Regions from separate parts of the Homo sapiens genome. Here regions 1, 2, 4, 5, 6 and 7 are each linked to region 3. Evidence: promoter capture Hi-C in 16 types of primary human blood cells and fetal thymus (Javierre and others, 2016). All regions are on one chromosome and are shown on one strand. Each heading gives the region's core, a stretch centred on a gene start or on the middle of the fragment in contact. The rest is flanking DNA. Distances are from core to core; before and after follow the strand shown.

What was found. Contacts are between HindIII fragments. The CHiCAGO score rates a contact against its expected background, and 5 or more counts as called.
Region 1: a contact is called between a fragment that was not itself captured here and the fragment with the promoter of COX7C in region 3, in 2 of 17 cell types (non-activated CD4 T cells and total CD4 T cells). The highest score is 9.8, in non-activated CD4 T cells.
Region 2: a contact is called between a fragment that was not itself captured here and the fragment with the promoter of COX7C in region 3, in 8 of 17 cell types (non-activated CD4 T cells, total CD4 T cells, total B cells and 5 more). The highest score is 26.8, in non-activated CD4 T cells.
Region 4: a fragment that was not itself captured here is called in contact with the fragment with the promoter of COX7C in region 3 in 1 of 17 cell types (total CD8 T cells); the score reaches 5.7 in total CD8 T cells.
Region 5: a fragment that was not itself captured here is called in contact with the fragment with the promoter of COX7C in region 3 in 1 of 17 cell types (non-activated CD4 T cells); the score reaches 5.8 in non-activated CD4 T cells.
Region 6: a contact is called between a fragment that was not itself captured here and the fragment with the promoter of COX7C in region 3, in 3 of 17 cell types (total CD4 T cells, activated CD4 T cells and non-activated CD4 T cells). The highest score is 6.8, in total CD4 T cells.
Region 7: a fragment that was not itself captured here is called in contact with the fragment with the promoter of COX7C in region 3 in 8 of 17 cell types (total CD4 T cells, non-activated CD4 T cells, activated CD4 T cells and 5 more); the score reaches 21.6 in total CD4 T cells.

What each region holds. Positions count from the first base shown.
Region 1 is chr5:88,496,710-88,499,765 of GRCh38, reverse strand. No RefSeq gene overlaps it. Among named protein-coding and RNA genes, the nearest start is that of LINC02060, 59 kb to the right of the region's middle. The HindIII fragment of the contact is 195 bases long and covers 1,397-1,591 here.
Region 2 is chr5:88,259,489-88,262,508 of GRCh38, reverse strand. All of the region lies in intron 1 of TMEM161B (transmembrane protein 161B), which reads left to right. Among named protein-coding and RNA genes, the nearest start is that of TMEM161B, 7.8 kb to the left of the region's middle. The HindIII fragment of the contact is 4,836 bases long and covers 1-3,020 here.
Region 3 is chr5:86,616,598-86,619,600 of GRCh38, reverse strand. COX7C (cytochrome c oxidase subunit 7C) reads right to left here and starts at 1,660. Exons shown (of 3, transcript NM_001867.3): 1 at 1,471-1,660; 2 at 105-248. The coding sequence starts at 1,545. The coding sequence ends at 132. RefSeq lists enhancers at 570-1,235, 1,533-1,622, 1,555-1,849, 1,236-1,901, 1,913-1,992. The HindIII fragment of the contact is 5,230 bases long and covers 1-3,003 here.
Region 4 is chr5:88,146,458-88,149,196 of GRCh38, reverse strand. No RefSeq gene overlaps it. Among named protein-coding and RNA genes, the nearest start is that of TMEM161B, 120 kb to the left of the region's middle. RefSeq lists an enhancer at 2,671-2,739. The HindIII fragment of the contact is 192 bases long and covers 1,218-1,409 here.
Region 5 is chr5:88,513,235-88,516,277 of GRCh38, reverse strand. No RefSeq gene overlaps it. Among named protein-coding and RNA genes, the nearest start is that of LINC02060, 76 kb to the right of the region's middle. The HindIII fragment of the contact is 7,891 bases long and covers 1-3,043 here.
Region 6 is chr5:88,239,120-88,241,942 of GRCh38, reverse strand. It overlaps TMEM161B (transmembrane protein 161B), which reads left to right. Exons shown (of 12, transcript NM_153354.5): 2 at 1,027-1,130. Among named protein-coding and RNA genes, the nearest start is that of TMEM161B, 28 kb to the left of the region's middle. The HindIII fragment of the contact is 1,744 bases long and covers 406-2,149 here.
Region 7 is chr5:88,278,712-88,281,780 of GRCh38, reverse strand. All of the region lies in intron 2 of TMEM161B-DT (TMEM161B divergent transcript), which reads right to left. Among named protein-coding and RNA genes, the nearest start is that of TMEM161B-DT, 11 kb to the right of the region's middle. The HindIII fragment of the contact is 164 bases long and covers 1,274-1,437 here.

The DNA of each region.
Region 1 (3,056 bases), core at 245-2,744, 1.9 Mb before region 3:
GATGACACATGCTTCATACAGTAAGTGCTTCAGATGCTACCCATGGAGGATAGGTTTCAGAGCCTGCAGATTTAAGGTGAGCAAGCAATAAAGATTTGTCGTATCGTTCACTGAGATTTGGGGGTTGTTTGCTACCACAGCATAATCAAGCCATGCTATTATAGCTGGTAAATCAAAAGAGCTGGTTAAAGCAAAGAATCTTAAACAATAATTAAATGTTCTTTTTAATTTTAATTGTAATTTAAAATTCTTTTTAATTTTTAATAAAAATGTATATAAAATGACCAATATTTTTGTTGTTGTTAGCCAGGACTTTTCTTCAATGATGAGTGTGCTGACTGGATTTCCATATTGTCTTTCATGCAATACCAAATAGATCATGCTTTGTGCAGGGTTTTTCCATGCAGCAAGAATGCAAAGGCATGGGTGAAACCATATGACTGCAGACTCTTCTGGCTTCTTAACATTGCCCTTTGCAAATATTTCACTTTCATCTCTCTTAGCAAACCTTTTTCAAGAGACTTACCTTTATTAAGTCTTTCCAAAATACTCTTTTTCATTTCCATACAAGCACCTTTCATTCTTGTCACACTCATATTTTACTAATGTGTGGTATTTAATTAAATAATTGTATAATTCAAATAACAAGCACAAATGGCAGAAAAAATTTAAGAATAAACATAAGTGATTATTACAAGCATGTAATTCATCAAGTTAAAGCACAAGACTAGAGAATTCTAGAGAATAGCCTACTCATCATGAGTTTTGAGACTTTTAGACAAGGCCTAGAGAATCAGTATATTGGACACAAATCATGTGTATCTTCTCAGATCCCCTAGTTGACATTTCTTCTTCTCTTTCTCAGGTGGTATTTACTTGTACCAAGTCACCCTTCCACTTTAGATATGAATAAAATGCCATGTTGCGAGCATGGGATTTGGCCTCCTGAGTGGTTACCAGGGGACCTAAGAGTCCATTGGCAGTGCTGGGGAGATGTCCCCTTGTGTGATGAATCATGACCAATAGGAAATGAGAGATGGGAGGCCTCTCACAGGTGAATCTCTCCTTTCTTCATTCCATGGACAGCAATAAGGTAAGCTTCTCCTTATAACCTTTTTAGGAAGAAGTCCCTTTGTGCTGAGTTAAGTCTGCCGGTGTACTGTTGTCAACTCTTTTGAACTCTGTGTGAAGTGGTGACCATCATGATAATGATTTGCATTACTCCATGTCTTTTATTGCCTCACTTCTCTCTTTCTCTTCATCTTTATTACCCTGGGCTTATATGTCCATAGTGTCATCACTTTAATCCCTGCCTCAGGCTCTGTCTTCTAGAGGAACCATACAAAGACAGTCAGTTAATCTGATGAGTCAGTTAAAGAGGTTGATTTAAAAAGCTTCTATGGAATAGCATTAGTGCTAGGCAAGGAGACAGTAGGAGCCCAGAGAAGTGGTGGAATATCTAGAGTCATTCACAGTCTGTTGGACTTATTCAGGGAATACAACATATATTGAGATATCTAAAATTAATGAGTCCTAAAGGACAAAAATAGATCATTGGAGGAAACAAGGTTTTCAGTCTGGTAGGAAAGCTTAGGCATGATGAAGGAATAATAATACTATTAATAAAAATCATAACTAATATTTATGGATTCTTACTAAGTTCCAGCTACTATATTAAGTACTTTCGAAAACTTAATTAGATGAGATACAGTCAATTTTACTAATTTTTTATGGAGAAATTGTGGCTTAGGAAACTTAAGAGGTTTTCACATAGTCACTCATCTAAGAAATAGTGGAGCACAAATTCAAACCCAGGGTTTGACTCTTAACCACAGGCTTAAGCAAATATGGGAAAATATTTAAATGGAGCATGAGGCACATTATAGAAGTAGAGAGCAGTCCAGAAAACTGGGAACAATATCTCAGACTCCAAACAGGAGGACCACTTCATAAAACAGGACGGCCTGGGTATGAGTGCTGATGCAGGGTCAGAGGCTCTCTGAACAACTGTTCAGAACTTAAGCAGCCTCCCGGTACAGTAAATCAGATCTAGCTAGAATAGGCTCACTCTTTTTAGAAGAGACTGCTTCTACTTTTTATAGTAATTGTTGCAAATGACTAGATCTTTCAAATTTATTATTTCATTTATCCCATTATTCAACAAATATTTAAGATTTTCTCTGAGCCATGCAAAATTATTGGCACTGTGGATATACAGATAATTAAGGTACAGTCCAAACCTTAAGGAATTCACAGGCTGATAGAGAGGACAGCCAAGTACTCAAAAATGTATAAAGGAATAGCAGTAACATGGGAGTATGGGGAGCACAGAGGAGGGTACTGACCCCTGTCTGAAGTTAGAGGAATGGGGAGACTTCCCAGAGACAGTGAAGAAATTGATTCCTGAGAATGGGACATATTTTTCCCGGGAGACAAAGGGAAAGGAAGAACTCTCTAGGCAGAAGAAACAGCACTGGGAAAGAAATGGAATCATGAGCAAGTATACTGCATTCCAGAAACATGTGACAGCATGGTAGATTTGGAGTATAGGCAGAGTGGCCATGCAATTCACTAACAAAGTCAGAACGATAGTTTTGAGAGTGAAAGGGGTGCTTTTCCTCACTATTTTGGGACAATACAAATAAAAAGGAACTGTCCCAGGTAAACCAGGATGTTTGATCACTCCAAGTAAGGAGACTACAGGATGGAAAGGGTGTTGGAATTACTTAGACTTGAGTCTGAATCCAGGTGTGGATGATCAGAAGCAGTGTCTGTGTTCAGTCATCTTTGTAGCTGATTATGCCTCAGTGTCCTCCTTTGAATCAAAATGAATTGCTTGAAATTAATAATTTCTTCCTTGTAGATTTGTGTGATGACAAAATGAGATAACAGAAATAATACAATTGACACAATGCCAGCCTGTAGTATGTGCTCAACAAATATTGTTTCTCTGTGTGTACTCTTCCCACCATAGGCCAGAAATGGGAGACGAGGTTGGAGGATTAAGCCGGTGGGATTACCAACAGATTGCAAAGATCATGACAAGGAGTTTGAAT
Region 2 (3,020 bases), core at 470-2,969, 1.6 Mb before region 3:
GGGATATCTTGGTTGCTTCCAGATTTTGGCAATTATGAACAAAGGTGATATAAACTGTATGTACAGTTTTTTGTGTGGACAAAGGTTTTCAGTTCCTTTGGGTAAAAACCAGCAAGTGCAATTGCTGGATCATATGGTAAGACTGTAAGAAACCACAAGTTGTCTTCCAAAGAAGCTATATCATTTTGCATTCCTACCAGCAATGAATCAGAGTTCCCATTGCTCTACATTCTTGCCAGCATTCAGTGTTGTCAGTGTTCTGGATTTTGGCCATTCTAATAGGTGTATAATGGTATTTCCTTATTTTAATTTGTATTTTCCTAATGACATGATGTGGAACATCTTTTCATATTCTTATTTGCTGTCTGTATGTCTTTGGTGAGGTGTCTTTTAAGGTCTTTGGTGCATTTTTAAAATCAGGTTGTTTTCTTGTTGAGTTTTAATTAAGAGTTTGTTATATTTTGTATAACAATCCTTATCAGATATGTCTTTTGCAGATATTTTCCCCTGGTCTGGTTTGTTTTCTCATTTCCTTGACATTGTCTTTTACAGAGCAGATTTTAATTGTAATGAAGTCCAGCTTATCAGCTCTTTCTTTCATGGATCATGCCTTTGGTTTTGTGTCTAAAAAGTTGTTGCCTTGTCCACAGCCATCTATGTTATCTAACAGGACTTTTATAACTTTGTGTTTTACATTTAGGTCTATGTTCTATTTGAGTTAACTTTTGTGAAGAGTGTAAGGTGTGTGTCTAGAGTCTTTTTTTTTTTTTTTTTTTTTGCACATGAATGTCTAGTTGTTTCAGTACCATTTGGTGAAATTTGTTTGTTTTTTTTTTTTCTCCATTGTATTGCCTGTGCCCTTTTGTCAAAGATCATTTGACTATATGTGGGTCTATTTCTGGCCCCTCTATTCTATTCTGTTGATCTGTTTATTTCTTCTTTCATCAATAACACAGTCTTGATTATTCTAGCTTTCTAGTGAATCTTGAAGTTGGTTAATGTCAGTCCTCCAACTTTGTTCTTCAGTATTGTGTTGGCTCTTCTGGGTCTTTTGCCTCTTCAAATTAACCTTAGAACATTTCTTTCTTTTCTTTTCTTTTCTTTTTTTTTGATACCCTTAAAATAACTTGCTTGGATTTTGATTGTAATTGCATTGAATCTGTAGATTAAGTTGAGAAGGACTGCCTCCTTGGTAATATCCTTTTCATGAACATGGAATATCTCTCCATTTATTTATTCTTTGAATTCAGTTATCAGAGTTTTGTAGTTTTCTTCATACAGGTCTTGGCATATTTTATTAGATTTATACCAAAGTATTCATTTTTTTCTGGGTGCTAATGTAAATAGTATTTTTAATTTCAAATTTCACTTGTTCATTGCTAATATATAGGAAAGTGATTGACTTGTATATTAACTTTGTATCCTGCAACCTTGCTATAATTGCTTATTGGTTCCAGGATATGCCACCTATTTTTAGTCTTTTAAGTTATTGCAGTTCTTAGAGAATACAATTACAACTCACTTACCCAATGATTTTTATGTTCACATCTTTTAATTATATAAAACAGACGTAGTAGTTCTGTTGTTAAAGTAGGTTAAATATCTTTTGTGTTTTGGCTATAAACTATAAGATTTAGAAAACCTGAAACAACTTAAACTTTTGCTACTTTGAGACTTGGGATCTCAGTATCTTATTTCAATTAAAAAAATTCTTAATCATTATGAAAATCGATGTGCTTGTATGCTGCTATTTCTAAAAATGACTTTGTGAAAAGTGGCCTGGCATGGTGGCTCATGGAAGGCTAAGGCAGGAGGGTCACTTGAGGCCAGGAGTTTGAGACCAATCTGGACAACATAGTGAGACCTCTTCTTTACAAAAGGTTTTAAAAATTAGTGAGGCGTGCTGGCAAGCACCTGTAGTTCCAGCTACTTGGGAGGCTGAGGTGGGTAGATCACTTGAGCCCAGGAGTTTGAGATTGCAGTGAGTTGTCATCAGGCTGCTGTGCTCCAGCCAGGGAAACAGAGTGAGACCCTGACTCTTATAAAACACAAAAATAAAAACTAAAAATGACTATTTGAAAAGTAAAAATAAATACATGGCATTGAAAGTGTGCTTGAACTAGAATTCTATGATTTTTATAGTTTGATTCAAGTTTCTGTGATTCTGATTATGTAAATTTGGAAATACTGTTGAACATTTAGCTGAATGTACATTATGGGATACAAAGAGAGGAATATTCAGTTTCTATGGAATTCAAGAAGGGTTTCATAAAGAAAGGTTTGGATTAGATTTTTGAGGGTAAGTAGAAGTATGTCCGTTGGGTAAGAAATTGAATTTTACTTTTCCTCAATAACGATAACAGCTGCATTTATTTTACATTTAATATTTACCAGGTATTATTCTACATTCCACTTATATTGACTCATTTAAATCTTTATGAAGTAGTTAAATTCTGTTTTTTTAAACCTTTATCTTACAGATGTAGAAATGGAGGCTCAGCAAGATTGGAGTAACTTCTCCAAAATCACACAGCTAGAGATGACAGAATTTGACTTTTAACCCAGGCTTCTTGTCCCTTGTGCTGTTGTGCCAGTCTTTTGTTTGTCTTGAGTAAGATTCACTTATGAAAAAATTGAATTTCACAAGTTCAATCTAGTGTTTGAAATTCAAAAACATTTTCCTATAGAAATCATAATTAGTAACGATATTTTTAGAAAATGTTTCCCGAACCTAGTTAACACCTAATATATCTCTATAGTATTCAAGCAATTAATCATTACTATCCGGCATAGCAGTACTGATTGACATTTTTAACTAGGTGTCAAACACATCTGCCACTGCTGCAGTAAGTCATAAGATTCTTTCATATTTCTTCTACCTTAACTGCATCCACTGAAGGCACTGCTTTACACCAAAGCCTTAGTTTCTCTTAGGCCTGAAGATGCACTTCTAGTAACACTGATGAGTTGAAGAGCAATTTGAGAAATTGGGGATGAGTTGTGCTGAACTTGAATTTCTT
Region 3 (3,003 bases), core at 411-2,910:
TCAGCCCTACACAACAATGTATTTGTGTGTGTGTTCTGGGTGATGGGGAAGAGGCTACTTAATAAAAAGGCCTGCTTTAACATGATTAGAAATCCACTAACTACCTGTTAAATGGAGGAACTGAAACATCCTTATGTTTTAAGCAGTTGGTGTCTTACTACAAGGAAGGGTGTAGCAAATGCAGATCCAAAGTACAAACACATCTTAGCTAGTAACGACCACTTGTTTTCCACTGAAAATGGCAAATTCTGTTGGAAAAAAAGAGAAAAAGTAATCGAAATTGAATCTCAAATCATCTGCTTAATAATCAAAATACAAGTATACAGGAAATGCTAGTTATATTTTACATCATCAGGTTAACATATGCCATAAATCATAACATCGTTTTAAACATTTATCTTTCAAATCCTATGACCTTCATCACAAAACACTACATGGCAAGAAATAATCTGGCTTTACTAAGCACTAGGCAATGAATGGTCTTGAGGACTCAAACGTCAAATAGTGAGAAGTTTCTTACTTTAGAAAATCGAAAAAACTACTGTCCTAAGTAGTCACCTTAGAAGATACATGGCAATGTTAAGTGCAATACAGCTCTTTTTTTTTCTTTTTTTTTTTTTTTGAGACGGAGTCCCGCTCTGTCCAGGCTGGAGTGCAGTGGCCCGATCTCGGCTCACTGCAACCTCCACCTCCCGGGTTCAAGCGATTCTCCTGCCTCAGCCTCCCGAGTAGCTGGGATTAGAGGCACACACCACCACGTCCGGCTAATTTTTTTGTACTTTTTAGTAGAGACAGGGTTTCGCCATGTTGGCCAGGCTGGTCTGGAACTCCTGACCTCAGGTGATCCGAACGCCTTAGCCTCCCGATTACAGGCGTGCGCCACCGCACCTGGCCCACAGTTTTTTTTGTTTGTTTGTTTTTCATTACCAAGCACCTTCTCTGGCCTTTATGACTAGGCCTCGTGTGACCCTCCGAGATTGTTACTGCTATGTGGTTTAAGTTATTTACACCTGAGGCCAAACCCAGCCTTAACTGAGGTGAAGGGTTAGTACTTCTAACTTAGGCAGCTAGTTTAAAAAGCCTGTTCCATAACCAGAGGCCCTGATTTCCTCATGATTTTCCAATGACCTTCATTTCGGGTCCGATGACCTCCAGCTCGGATTTAACCAACACACCTACAGCCGTGGCCTCCCGGAGCCATCTCAGGGCTTTCTGCGGGGCGGGGGAGGGGGCGTCAGGTGGCTGATGGAGGCAGGGCTTCCGGATCTACCTGCCCATTCCTTTAGCGGCTACGCGCTAGGATGCCCAGCTTCCTCACTGGTCCTTGGGCTAAGTGGAATGCTAGTCTGCGTCTCAGCCTGGTTTCTGGCTATCATCTCCCACGCCACAGCCCGGAGGCGGCCTTGCAGGTGCGCGAGTCACAGCCAAGCGCCCCCTCCCCCAACGAAGCCGTGCCCCTTACACACTAACCTTCCCAGGGCCCTCCTCATAGTGGCTCCTACGGACCACAGAGGTTGTGAACCTCCGGATGCTCTGGCCCAACATACCGCTGCTGGAAGCTCTGCGAAAGGCGCAGAGAATGAGGACAGATGAAATGGCGGCACCTCACCAAGACCTTTTTTTTCACGACCTTGTTCCCCGGTGCGCAAGGACTGAAAAGAAAGATGGGAAATGGGGCGGAGCCTTGAGGAAACGCGACAAAGCGGAAATCGCCCTGGATTGTGGGAATTGTAGTTCAGACCATTGCGGAGCCTTATCAGCCCCCGAAGGATTGTGGGAAATGTAGTTTCGCGCCAGGCTTAGGTCTAGGATTCCTGGGGCCTGTTACCGGAAACGATTTTATTGAATCAAGTGAAGCAGTTTCACCCCGTATACTCTAGTCTGTTGAAAAGGACAATAAACCCATCCCTTTTCTCTTCTTTCTTTCTTTTTTAAAAATAAAGTATATGCTAGGTGTCAATGATTTCGAGGACTTTTGCCAATGCTGAGAGATATGTGCTAATGATCCTAGCTGAAGAAACAAAGCATAAACACAAGTAATCAAACAACGTGCAGCACAAAGGACTTCAGAGAGAAAACTGAAATGCTAAGGGAATGATCACTAAAGATAATGGGAATCGAATAAAAAAGAAGGAAGAACAAAGGGCAGGGAAAACTCAAGTCTGGTATGAGTACAGCATGTGTGAGGAGTAGAAGGGAAAAGTGGCCTCTGACACCTGGAGCTAGCCTGGACTAGGAACTGGTGTCCGCCTGATGAACGTACACAATTTCAGCAAGCATTAGCATCCAACAAGACCACTCTGACAGTGTTCATTAAGAAAAGAATATGATCACTGTGTAATCACATCTGAACACAGATAAAACATTGTCCAAGCCACGAAAATGACCGGACATCACCCTATCTGGTTTAATTTGATGACTTCTGCTTCTTTACCAATTACAATCTTAGCCTTGATCTAGCCTTTCTTCCTCCTAAGATTTGGTAAGGTAGCCAATATTAGGAGAAAAAAATCCCAAATCCAATAAGCATTTTCTAATATTTTACAGAGAACCCTTACTGCAATGAATAATAAACCCCGTTTGTCAATTACATGTGTGCTTCTGGTGGTCTTTGACCAGAAGGTATTGAGAAGAAACCAGTGATAAATGAACCTGGGAAAGTGGTGTTAGGTTAGATTGTGAAAGGCCCTGGTAACCTAAATGTTATGTTATTCATCTGTGGGGGAGTGTATATTGCCTCACGTGTCTCATTTATATAGCATTAGGAAACAATTCCAATAAGACCTAAGGTTTGCTTTGAAAAGGGCATAACATATATGCTCTTTTCGTCTTTTTTTTTTTTTTTTTTTTCAGTTTTTGGAAGAGAACAACCATGCCCCTCCCCCCCAAAAAAACACTTAAAAAAAACACTTAAATTCATATTTTGTTTCAACAAGTAGCTTCTTTTTGAGTAGGGGTTCATGAAATGCATCATAACTGGTGTCCTCTACCACCTAATTTATA
Region 4 (2,739 bases), core at 64-2,563, 1.5 Mb before region 3:
GAATTTTATGATAATGGAGTGCTTAGCAATTTTATTTCAGATTTATGACATATACTTAGTGTCTTATTGTGTTCATTTTGTATTTTTATTTAAGAACATTTATAATATAGAACCCACGCTAGTAATCACTAAAAAGCTGCCACTTCTTCCGCAGGTCTAAATAGTCAAATAGACATTGGGTACCTTGCATATTTATTCATTCATTTAATTCACTCATTCTCTCAGACACATGCCAGGTATGCTGAGAGGAATAAGGTGATGACACATCAGTGTTCTAACTATATCTACAAGAAGATGGGCAAAATATAGTGCCCAAACTGGTTTTTGAACTTCTATCTTGTGTGAATGCTAGCTGTGGTAGGAATTAAAATAATGGCATATAGAATTCCGAATATTCCACTGTTAGTCACTTGTAATCTGCTAACATTTAACACTTAAACGGTTGTGGACTAGAATAGCAGAATGGGCCAAAAATCCTGTCAATGAATGCAAGAGGATCTTAAGCAGCTTAATTGAAATTAAAAAAAGGTAAAGTTTCAAAAATTGTATTCAGCCTTTATTCTGTAATGAGAAGAAAAATGCCAGTGCTTTAATTATAAACACGATTTCCTAAAGCATTCCAAGTTTTCCTTGTAGACTTTCAGGGCCAGGGATTGACTATCCTTGTGCCTGCTTGGATAGAAAAGGGCTTGATAAAAGTGCTGTGTCCTCTGGCACAGTTTAATCACTTAATACCTTGTTCCAATTGAAAACATAACCCAACCCTATTCAGATGATGGAGCATCTACACTTGATCTGCCTATGGCTTGTGCAGTCACTGATATTTCCAAGGAAAGTCTTGTGATTATCAAAATGGAAATTAATTTCATAGACTTGAGGCTGAACTAAAAAAAAATGTTCATTGTAGTAATCTGCTGATGTTGATTCCTGAAAATGTTGCTTAGAGTAAATAAACTCAGCATCAGCCTGGAAGAATGGGTCTAGGTGAGGACTGCATATTGGGAATAGAGGTGAGATCGGGGTCAAGGGGTGAAGAATTGAGCAAAGATTCTTTGTTACCGGAGAAAAAGCTTCAACAATACTATCAGAGAGTATATATTTTTGTAGTTCTTGATTCTTATAACCACTGAAATGAACCAGCTGTCTTCCATAGAAAGTTATAAAATTATCAAAGGTATTAATTTACCAACTTCAATAGCTGAAGGAAAATTTAAGCTTGTTTTAGGGGCATGAAATTCTTATAGATAACAACATTTCTGAGAACATCATTTCCTACAACGACAAGCAGTACCAGTGAAGAACTTTACATCTCGTTTGATACCTTTAAATTACTTTAAGAACTAATCATTTCATCCATGCAAAGGAAGAGCTACAGTAAGGTGCAAATAAGATCACAAAGAAGTAAAGCTTCTGGCATAGTCTTATGCCTAAATTGTGATGTTTGCTTTGAAAAACACTGAATAATGACAGATCCAGTTACTCTGCACAGTGTCCAGAACTTTATGGACTTGTAAGACTAGATGGACTTGGGGAGCTCATCTGATTCAATTTCTTAATTGTATGGATAAATTAGGCCCCAGCAGAATACGGCATCTCATTTAAAGTCACTAGACATTTAGAGGAAGACCCAGAGTTAAAAATCTCTTCATTTTTAGCTTACTGATCTTTCCAACATTTTACATTCCAGGATGTCTAGAAAAATTATTACTTATATCCAAAATGTAAATGCAATGATTGCTGTGGTGGTGGTTGTGTTCTCACTTATGAAGGCTTCAAGTGTAGATCAATGGTTCTTTTTTGAATCATGAATTTCACTGGGTATCCAGTGAAAGAGATGACCTCCTTTACATAAAAGTAAAGATATATGCATAAAGATACACAATTCTTTTTCATCCTTACTGTATATTAATGGACTCTTAGACTATTAGGAGTGATGGATCAGGTTAGGAAGTCTTTGTAGACAGTGAAAACACAGAGTATTATTGGTTCTAATTATGTAAAATATTCCGGGGAAATTTTAATTTTGATATTATTATTGCCTTGTTATTTTTATATAACTGCAGAATACATTAAAGTAAAATATTTCAAAAACTCTACAATTTCTGAATTGGAGATTATTTAGTTAGATATCTCAAATTAAAAAAGCTGTGACATACTAAGAATAAAAGACTTGAATTTCCCTGGCTAGTTAATAGCAGAGAAAAGACTATATTATGTTGTATGCATAAATTTATACACATATACTAAACTTTAGAGCTGCTTTATGAGAAAAGCCAATTTAAAGGACAAATTTGACTTTTAAAGGATACATTTCTTGTCAATACTATCTATTCTGATTTCTGCTTCAACATATTGGGACATTATGAAGTAAAAGGAGGAATTAAATTAAGAAATGCCCATTAATATGTCTATATTTTTAAAATACCAGCTATTTCTAACTCAACTGTGTAAAAATACAGTATATTTACATTTACAAAAAATTTTGAAAGCAATTTTCATGAAGCTTTAAGTTCAAGAAATGTTAACATTACTTTCAAGGGAAAAGTATTTGAAAATGGAAATACTTTTTGAATTGTTAAATCGATACATTTGTTAACAATCAGGTGGTTTCAGTTCATAAACCACATACAAGCAAGCAGAATAAATAGGAAATAAATTAGGTGCTATTAGAAAGGATTTTAATATTGCAATATTATTGTAGCCATGTACCAGAAACTTCTGTAAAGGATCACCTGGAGG
Region 5 (3,043 bases), core at 393-2,892, 1.9 Mb before region 3:
CAATGGACTGAATGTTTATGTTTCCTCCAAATCCATACGTTGAAATCCTAAACCCCAAGTGATAGTATTAAGAGGTCGGGCCTTTGGAAAGTGATTAGGTCATGACGACAGAGCCCTCATAAACGAATTAGTGCCCTTATAAAAGACATTCCAGAGAGATCTCTCGCCCTCTCCACCATGTGAGGTTACGGTGAGAAGATAGCTGCCTACAAGGTTTTGGGCCCTCAGACACTGAATCTGCTGGTACCCTGATCTCGGACTTCTCAGCCCCTAGAACTATGAAAAATGAATTTATGTTATCTATAAGCCACCCAGTCTATGGTATTTTTTATAGCAGCCAGAATAAACTAAGACACAATGTACATGTGAAAAACCCTAGTTTGTTATAATAAACTGAATTCCTACAAAGCAAAATTTCAATTGTACAGCTTTTTTTCCTTATTTATTTTTAAATTGTAATTCCTGAAATAAAATTTTTGTTCTTTTGTAATGTGACTATTGGAGTTGTATTTGTGAGTTGTATTTATCGTCCATGTGAATGGCTTCTGTTCAGAGAAATATTTTAGAGGCATTACGGCTTAAGAACTTAATCTGTGGAACCTGATGGAATTGTGTCTGAACTTTAGTGAAGTCACTTAGCAGGTGCTATGGTCTGAATATTTGTATCTCCCCAGAATTTATATGATGAAACATAATCACCAATGTGGTGATAATGGGAGGTGGGGTCTTTGAGGGATGATTAGATCATGAGGGTGAGCCCTTATAAAAGAGGCCCAAGAGAGATGCCTTGTTCCTTATACCATGTGAGGACACAGCGCAAAGAATCAGAAAGCAGACATCAACTCTGCCAATGCCTTGAACTTTCTAGCCTCCAGAACTGTAAGAAGTAAATGTTGTTTATAAGCTACCCAGTTTATGGTATTTTGTTGTAGCAGACTGAATGATCTAAAACACTGGGTTTGAAACCTTGGGCAAATTGCTTAACCATAGTTAAGTCATAGTTTGCTTATTCATAAAATGGGCATAATGATACTTACCCCAAAGGTTATTGTAAAGATTAAATGGAAAGTGATATATGAGTAAATCCCTTAGCAAACTTTCTGGCATACAGCAAATCACCAAGATAGGATAGAAAAATTAGCATTTTAAATTTTATGTGAATTACATGGGAAATGAATATAAATTTTACACAATATAAATGGTTTGCATATAATACAAATTTAAACTACTACTGTAAAGTCTATAATGATAGATGTTTACACATCCCAGGGCTACCAGATATTATATAGTTCTTTGGTCCTTTTCCTTCCTTACTTCTTTCCATTTTTTTTTTAAGAGACAGGATCTCGCTCTGTTGCCCAGGCTGGAGTGCAGGGGTGAGATCATAGTTCACTGTAACCTTAAATTCCTGGGCCCAAGAGATCCTCCTGCCTCAGCCTCCTGAGTAGCTAGTACTATAGGCACCCCTCACTATGTCTTGCTAATTTTTTTTTCTTTTTTTGTGGAGATGGGGTCTCCCTATGTTACCCAGGCTGGTCTTGAACTCCTGCCCTTAAGTGATTCTCCTACCTCTGCCTCCCCAAAGAGTCAGTAGTATAGGTGTGAGCCAACACATCCAGATTTTTCTTTTTTTTTCTTTCTTTCTTCTTTCTTTCTTTCCTTCTTTCTTATCTTTTCTTTTCTTCCTTTCTTTTCTTTCCTTCCTTCCTTCCTTTCTTTCTCTCTCTCTCTTTCTTTCTTTCCTTCCTTCCTTCTTTCTTTCTTTTCTTTCTTTCTTTCTTTCTTTCTTTCTTTCTTTCTTTCTTTCTCTCTCTTTCTTTCTTTCTTTCTTTCTCCTGCTTCTGCTTCTGCCTCTTCTTCTTCTTCTTCCTCCTCTTCTTCTTCTTTCTCTCTCTCCCTCCCTCCCTCCCTCCCTCCCTCCCTTCCTCTGTTTATTTCTTTCTTTCTCTCTCTTTCTTTTTCTCTTCTTTACTCCTTTCCTTTCTTTTCCTTTTCTTTCCCTCCTGGAAATTCTTGATTTAAACAGTCTTGGGAGGAAGCCAAATACATAAAGCAGAGGAAAACAGAGATGCTATGGGGATTGGTGGGGAAGCATGGTGCCCAAACCTCCATCCATTCAATCACTCGTCCTGCTTCCCATCTCCTAATGGCATGGGAAAGGGCACCAAAGAAATCCCAAAGACTCTCTGGAAGAATTTGAAAACCATTTCCTAATTCTCTGCTTGTCAGTAGAAGAAAATGGATCCCAAAGCCCTGGTTTTCTAGTCATTAAGATGGCTGGTGAGAGAGTCAGGATGACTTCCAAGTGTAATGGTCATTGTGCTATGACAACCTGCCTGATTAATCCTCTGCTAAATATATCTAAGGGGGTACGAGACATCTGAATCACTGAGATATTCATTCAAACATGACCCCTGGAAGTTGCATATCTGGACAAGAGAAAATTCACAGACTGCAATTTAAAATCACCAAGTAGTCCTGAAAACTTTAGTGTCCATAAGACTGTTTCTGCTATTTGCATGAAGCCCAGTGGTCCTGTGATAAGCACAGAGGTAAGATGGCCTTTAAAAAAAAAGGTTCTGGAGAGGAGTTAAGGAACTGAGAGTTGGGACCATTGCAATTGCTCTGATTGAGTTGTAGTTTTAAAGAAGGAACTCAGTTCAATCTAGATTTCTTGGTACTCCCAACATTAGTTAGAATCTACTAAGAAAATATATCCAACATGAGAACCTAAAAACTATCAAATGTCCAATTCAGGCTACTTTTTATAATTAAAATAAAGAACAAAGAAATGAGGAAAGACTAAATTAGTGTGTCTCCTCAGACTAGAGAGGCAAAGGCTGAGATGATATAGCTGAAGCTCATGAAATAGCAAAGAATATATACAGAGTGGTTGAGCATAGACTACTCATTAAATAAAACATGTGAGAAATAGGTGGACTTCTTAAACCGATAAATTTGAGACTGATAAAGGGAAAACCACTACATTTTCTCTCCTGGTTGCACTTTGACTAAAAGAGTTTGAGAAGTTACCCACATTATT
Region 6 (2,823 bases), core at 28-2,527, 1.6 Mb before region 3:
TCTATTATTTCTGGGGTCTAAGAAAAGACAGATGTAGATATAAGTGACTTTGTGAGCTTATTGGTGGGAAGTGAGAGGGTTCCCATTTGATTGTATCTATTTTTCCTGTAAAGTAGATGTCCTCTACCGAGTGGAGAGTTAGACGTTTGAAGGGGGTTGGAGATGTGAAGAGAGGAAAGAAGGTTTGAATTAGCCATCATGGAGAATATGGGAAGGATTGATGAGAGTAAACTAAGAGGATTGTTGGACATTAAGACCCATTCACTGGAAGTGGGTGGTAACAGCATGAGTTCAGTTTTCTTTATTAGTGACTTTCAGGCCAGTTCTGCCATCACACTTCGTATAGTTAATGGTTTGTGATCACTACCACCTAGGATTAAAACCAGGCATATTACTTTTAAAGCTTGTCAAGCTAATGTTTTTAGTGTGTAGAGTAAATTGGAGAAGGATGAAGAAATCGCTTTCCACTTCATTTTGATATCCTTAATTTATGCAGAACATTTCTTGAGAATAGATTATAGATGTGTATACTAATTCATTTTAAGTTTATATTAGACTATGTGATCTTGAATACCTAATTGCCAGAATTTAACAGTTGTCCCTCAGTGTCTACACAGGGGATTTGTCCCAGGACCACCCCATACCAAAATCTGAGGATGCTCAAGTCCCTTATATAAAATGACATAGTATTTGCATATAACCTATGCACGTCCTCCTATATACTTGAAATCGTCTCTAGATTACTTATAATACCTAATACAATGTAAATGCTATGTTAATAGTTATACTCTATTTTTAAAATTTGTAGTATATTTTTAATTGTATTATTTTTTACTGTATTTTTTTCCTGCATATTTTTGATCTGCAGTTGTGGAGCCTGCAGATATGGAGGGCTGAGAGTAATGTATTTTAATAGTAAACTCATTTTTCTTAAAATGTAATTTTCAAAATGTACAGAAAGTTTTCCAGCAATGTCCCCAAATCCAAAATCATTCATTATTAAATTTGTTTGTTTTTTTTACACAGGGTGTGATAGGTATACAGCTGGTTGTTACCATGGTGATGGCCAGTGTCATGCAGAAGATTATACCTCACTATTCTCTTGCTCGATGGCTACTCTGTAATGGCAGGTAAGGCAAGGATAGGCTGATTTCAACTGACACTTTCAATCTCTAGTTTACCAAACTGATTAAATTCCTAGTTACTGTTTCTAAAACTTTAACAAAAGGAAGTCATAAGAAAAATCTAGCTTTCTTATTTCTCTTAAAAAATTAATTTTTTTTTTTTGGAGACAAGACCTTGCTATGTTGCCCAGGCTATTCTTCAACTCCTGGCTTCAAGCAAATCCTCCCACCTTGGCTTCCCAAAGTTCTGGGATTGCCTCATTATAGCTTCCTTATTACTCTTAGTTTGAGATATTAGTAGTTTATCTGTTTAGCACAAAGGTAATAGGGTCATGGACAAGAATTCAGTCCTCCCACCCCTACCTTCTTTCTTTTTCGGTCTGTGGGCACTGAAAACACCACATATTTTTCTAATTACCTTTAAAAAATTTGATCAACAAGGGGGTGAGAAATTGTAAATCCAAGTGCTTAAGTATTTTTGCTATTGTTCGAAGAAAATACTGAAAGCATATATTCTATTGGTGGCTCAGTCCAGAATTTATTATAATACAGATATTAGGAGTTCATAGTTTTACTGCAAAGAATTTTAAACTGTTTAATTTAGCAAGGAGGGGGATAAAGTTATGTTGTGGGATTTTAATTTTGTCTACTACACCATAGGCTCACAATCCCTACTCCTTCCACAAAGGAGCTAAGTAGGCTTGCTGAAACATGTACCTCCCACCCCTCAACAAAATTAGATTAAAAAAGTATAGGTATAGATACAGTGGGGAGAAATCAAGGAAAGTCTGCACACAGAAATACATGCCAAAATCCTGTGTAGTTGTGAAAGGTAAGTGATAAATTTGGTACCATGACTATTTATTTCAATTGTTCATTTCAGTTAAATAACCAAATTTTGTTACTGCTTTCTTTTGGTTAGGCCTATTGAAGTTAGAAAAACAATGGATACCTGTCCTAGTAATGATTTCATGTTCTACAAGACAAATACGCTTTTCATTCAGGGTCATCCCATTTACAAAGCTTAAATTTCCTTCACATAATTTATTTTCTATTTTAAATTATTTGTATTCTTCTCTGTGCTTTCTACTTTTTCCATATTGATGTTTAATATTGAAAAATATTATTCAGACTGCTTTAAAATTTTTTTGGAACAATGTGATACACAGGTGTGTGTGTGTATACTGAATGTGTGAGAGAGCTGTTCACAAATGCACATTTTGAGGAACAAAATAAATAATGGCTAAAGTTTTGGTAAAGTGTAAAATAAGTGAAAATAATCTTTAACTATTTTTTTACTGTGTAGGCTTAATATGCCTGTGCAATCTTGTTTACTGATTTAGCTTAGCAAAACCATTTTCGAAGATCAGGAAAAGATGAACATGAGCTGGGCAAATTATCATTAATTTGAAGTAAAAAGGGTCTCAGTAAACTAAGTAACATACATTAAGGCAGCTTACTTTCTCTTGAGAATTGCGTGTTTCTAAACTATGTTTATGATGTAATGTCACTTCCTTATCTCCTTTGTCTGTAAAGACCTTGACAATCTTGTCCCATTTTAGTGTACATGCATTTTCATCTTGTTACATATTCTGTTTTCCATCTATTTCTATAAAATTTATACTCACTAGTGAAAACTAAAGCCTGAGAGATCAAAAAGCTGATTATCTTTATTAATATTGGAAGATTTATATTTAAA
Region 7 (3,069 bases), core at 106-2,605, 1.7 Mb before region 3:
CCCACAGGTTGGCTACATATCTGTGTAATAATATGTCACTTTGGGGGCTAGGTCAACAACGGCATAAAAAACCATGGTGGCTTCTGCTTCTCTCTTGGATTACTTGTTTTAGAGGAAGCCAGGAAGCTCTATGAAGAGGTACATGTGGTGAGGAAGTGCGGTATTCTGCTAAACAGCTAGTGAAGAACTAAAGTGTCCTGCCAATAGCATGTGAAAGTGTATCCTCTGGTACTAGTTAAAACATCAGATGATTACAGTCTCAGCTGATGGTTTGACTGATAACTTCACAAGAGACAATGAATCAGAACCACTCAGCTATGCTGCTTCCGGATTTTTGACCTTCAGACACTACATGAGATAATGAATATTTATTGCTTTGCATGTTGTATTTTGGGGCAGTTTATTATGCAGCAATAGAAAATCAGTATACATTTTGGTACTCAGAAGTGGGGTGTTAGCAAAAACCTAAAATGTAAGTGTGGTTTTAAAACTGGCAGTGAACAGAAGGTAGAACTTGGAGGAGAGTGTTAATGAAAGTTTGAAGAGCTTTGAAGAAATTTTTTATAGAAGCATAATAGATAACCTTTGAGGAGGCTGCAGGTGACATCTTAACAGATTAGAAAACTCTTCTTGGAAACTAGAGGGAAGGAGATCCTTGTTACATAATGGCAGAAAGTTTAGCAAATTTGTTATCCACAGATATGTACAAAGTAGAAAAAATGCCTAATTAACTCATTGATCTAGCAAAGGAGATTGCCGGCCAAGTGTTAAATATTTCATGTGTATTTTTTCTTGTTGCTGATAGTAAAATGTGTGAGAAGAGAGACCATCAAAGTAAGGACTGTTAAACAAAAAGGAGCCATGGCTGGGCATGGTGGCTTATACCTAAAATCCCAGAACTTTGGGAGGCTGAGGTGGGAGGAATGCTTGAAGCCAGGAGTCCAAGATCACCTGGCCAACACAGCAAAAAACAGACTCTATTACAAACAAACAAACAAAAACAAGTCAAAACTTGCTGGATTTGAAGATTCCCAGCCTGTGCAGATGACAAATGTGCTAAAATTGGGGAATATCTCTGAGCAAAAAGCAAATCTAGGGCACTGCCAGTAAAACATAAAGTTGAGGCTGTAGTTATAAAGTCCTTTAATAGCTCAGAAAGATCTTAAGTTGTGCCTCAGAGTATTTTCATCAGACAAACGATGTGTCTCAGAAAATCTCTGAATAACATCACAGGTTTTTAAAAAGTTTAAGGGTATTTTCATCAGCAAAAGCTTGAGGCAGAGTTTATGTGGGACGAGATGTGTGGTTGTTGCTTTTGTCTGATGGAGTGAACTCAAAATTCACAAGTGAGCCACAAAGTTTTTAAGAGAAGTCTATTAGCAGAAACATGGCCAGCCTGGACTGAAAGGCACAGAGAGAACCAAATGGAAAGAAGCTTGTGGGACATCCAAGCTTCTATAGGCAGAAAGCAGGCAGAAGTGTAAACAAGAAAAAGAAAGGGTGACTCAGTGAGTAGATCCAAGATCCCAGAAGGCAGAGCTAAGAGAATTCTAGGCCTTGAAACTTGACCAAGCAACTGCCAATCTGTGCCCAGGTGGGTTTCAGAATTTCTGTGAACCTATGTACCTCCAATATTCCCTCTTTTTAAATATACATGTCCACATTTATTATCCTATTCATTTTCTATTACATGTGGAAGCAGAGACTGTGTCTTTAGTGTATGAGTCTTCAGATCAAAAAGAACTCTTCTTGAGGAGCTGTACTTAAGTACACCTATGAGTGTCATCCACAATTGGAACTGATTTAGATTTCTAGACCTTGAACTAATGGTGTCATAGGATGAGAGCTTTGGAGAGCTTTTGGAGGGGATGAATATATTTTGCAAATCAAGAACTATCAATCATTGGGGCCAAATTGTGACAGCTAGCTTCCCAGTATTCATGCTCTTGTGTAATCTCCTCCCACATATTGTCAGGGAAATGTCTGTGTGACTAACATTATATAGTAGAAGTAATGTTACATCACTCTGAATGATCATGGTTTCTGTCTCTCTCTTGGATCACCTGTTCTAGAGAAAGCCAGTTGCCATGTTGTGAGAAAACACAGGCAGCTCTACGAATGAGCCCTCTAGGAAGTGGATCCTCTAACACCAGTCAAACTTTCAGACTACAGCCCAGCCAACATCTTGACTGCAAATTCATGAGACCTTGGGCCAGAACATCTAGCTAAACCACCTGTGGATCCTAAGAAAGTGTATAAATATTTTTAGATTTAAGCTAGGGTGATTTGTTATACAGTAAGATAACTAATCCAAGTTCACAGGTTGCTTCATATTGAACTAAGTCTCTTGTAATCTACGGTTTTCTCCACTTGTCCTTCTCGTCTCCTTTTCTCCTGCAACATATTTGTTGAAATTAATTTGTCCCAATATTCTCCAAAATTGGATTTTTCATTTATATTTTCCATTCCAAAATATTACGTTGTGGTAGGTTTCATTGGCTTAAAGTTTTAATGGTGTTTATATTTTCTGCAAATTGGATGGATCTAAAGACCTGATTAGTATCAGGGTCAAATTTTTGATAAGATTTTAACATCAGTAGTGGTGTTTTTCCATTAAGAAACATATGTTTTCTTGTCTGTCATGTTAGCAGCTGTTGAAATGCAATAAATAAATCCATTTGTTCATTAGGAATTTCAAAATGGCAATTTTCTATCATTCCTCCATTTATTAGCTAGAATACATGTACAAAGAGAACCCTCTCCTCATCTACTATGTGGTTACTTACAGTTCACATACAAAAGGCAGGACAAATGCCTAATTACTTTAAAAACAAAACAAAACTGATTTTCAAAATAATGAATTGATGCAACAGCATCTTCTACTGTTGACCAACTAAATGCTGTTTGTTTTACAATCATTATGTACTCAGATTTAAAGACACTTGATATGTTCCAATCAATTGCATTTACTGTCCTTATTGACACTCAAATGGTCTCATCTATGGCCAGAAGGATGCTTTTCAGTTGTCTCCTGAGTCCATTTGATATGACACCCTCGTAGTCTCTAAT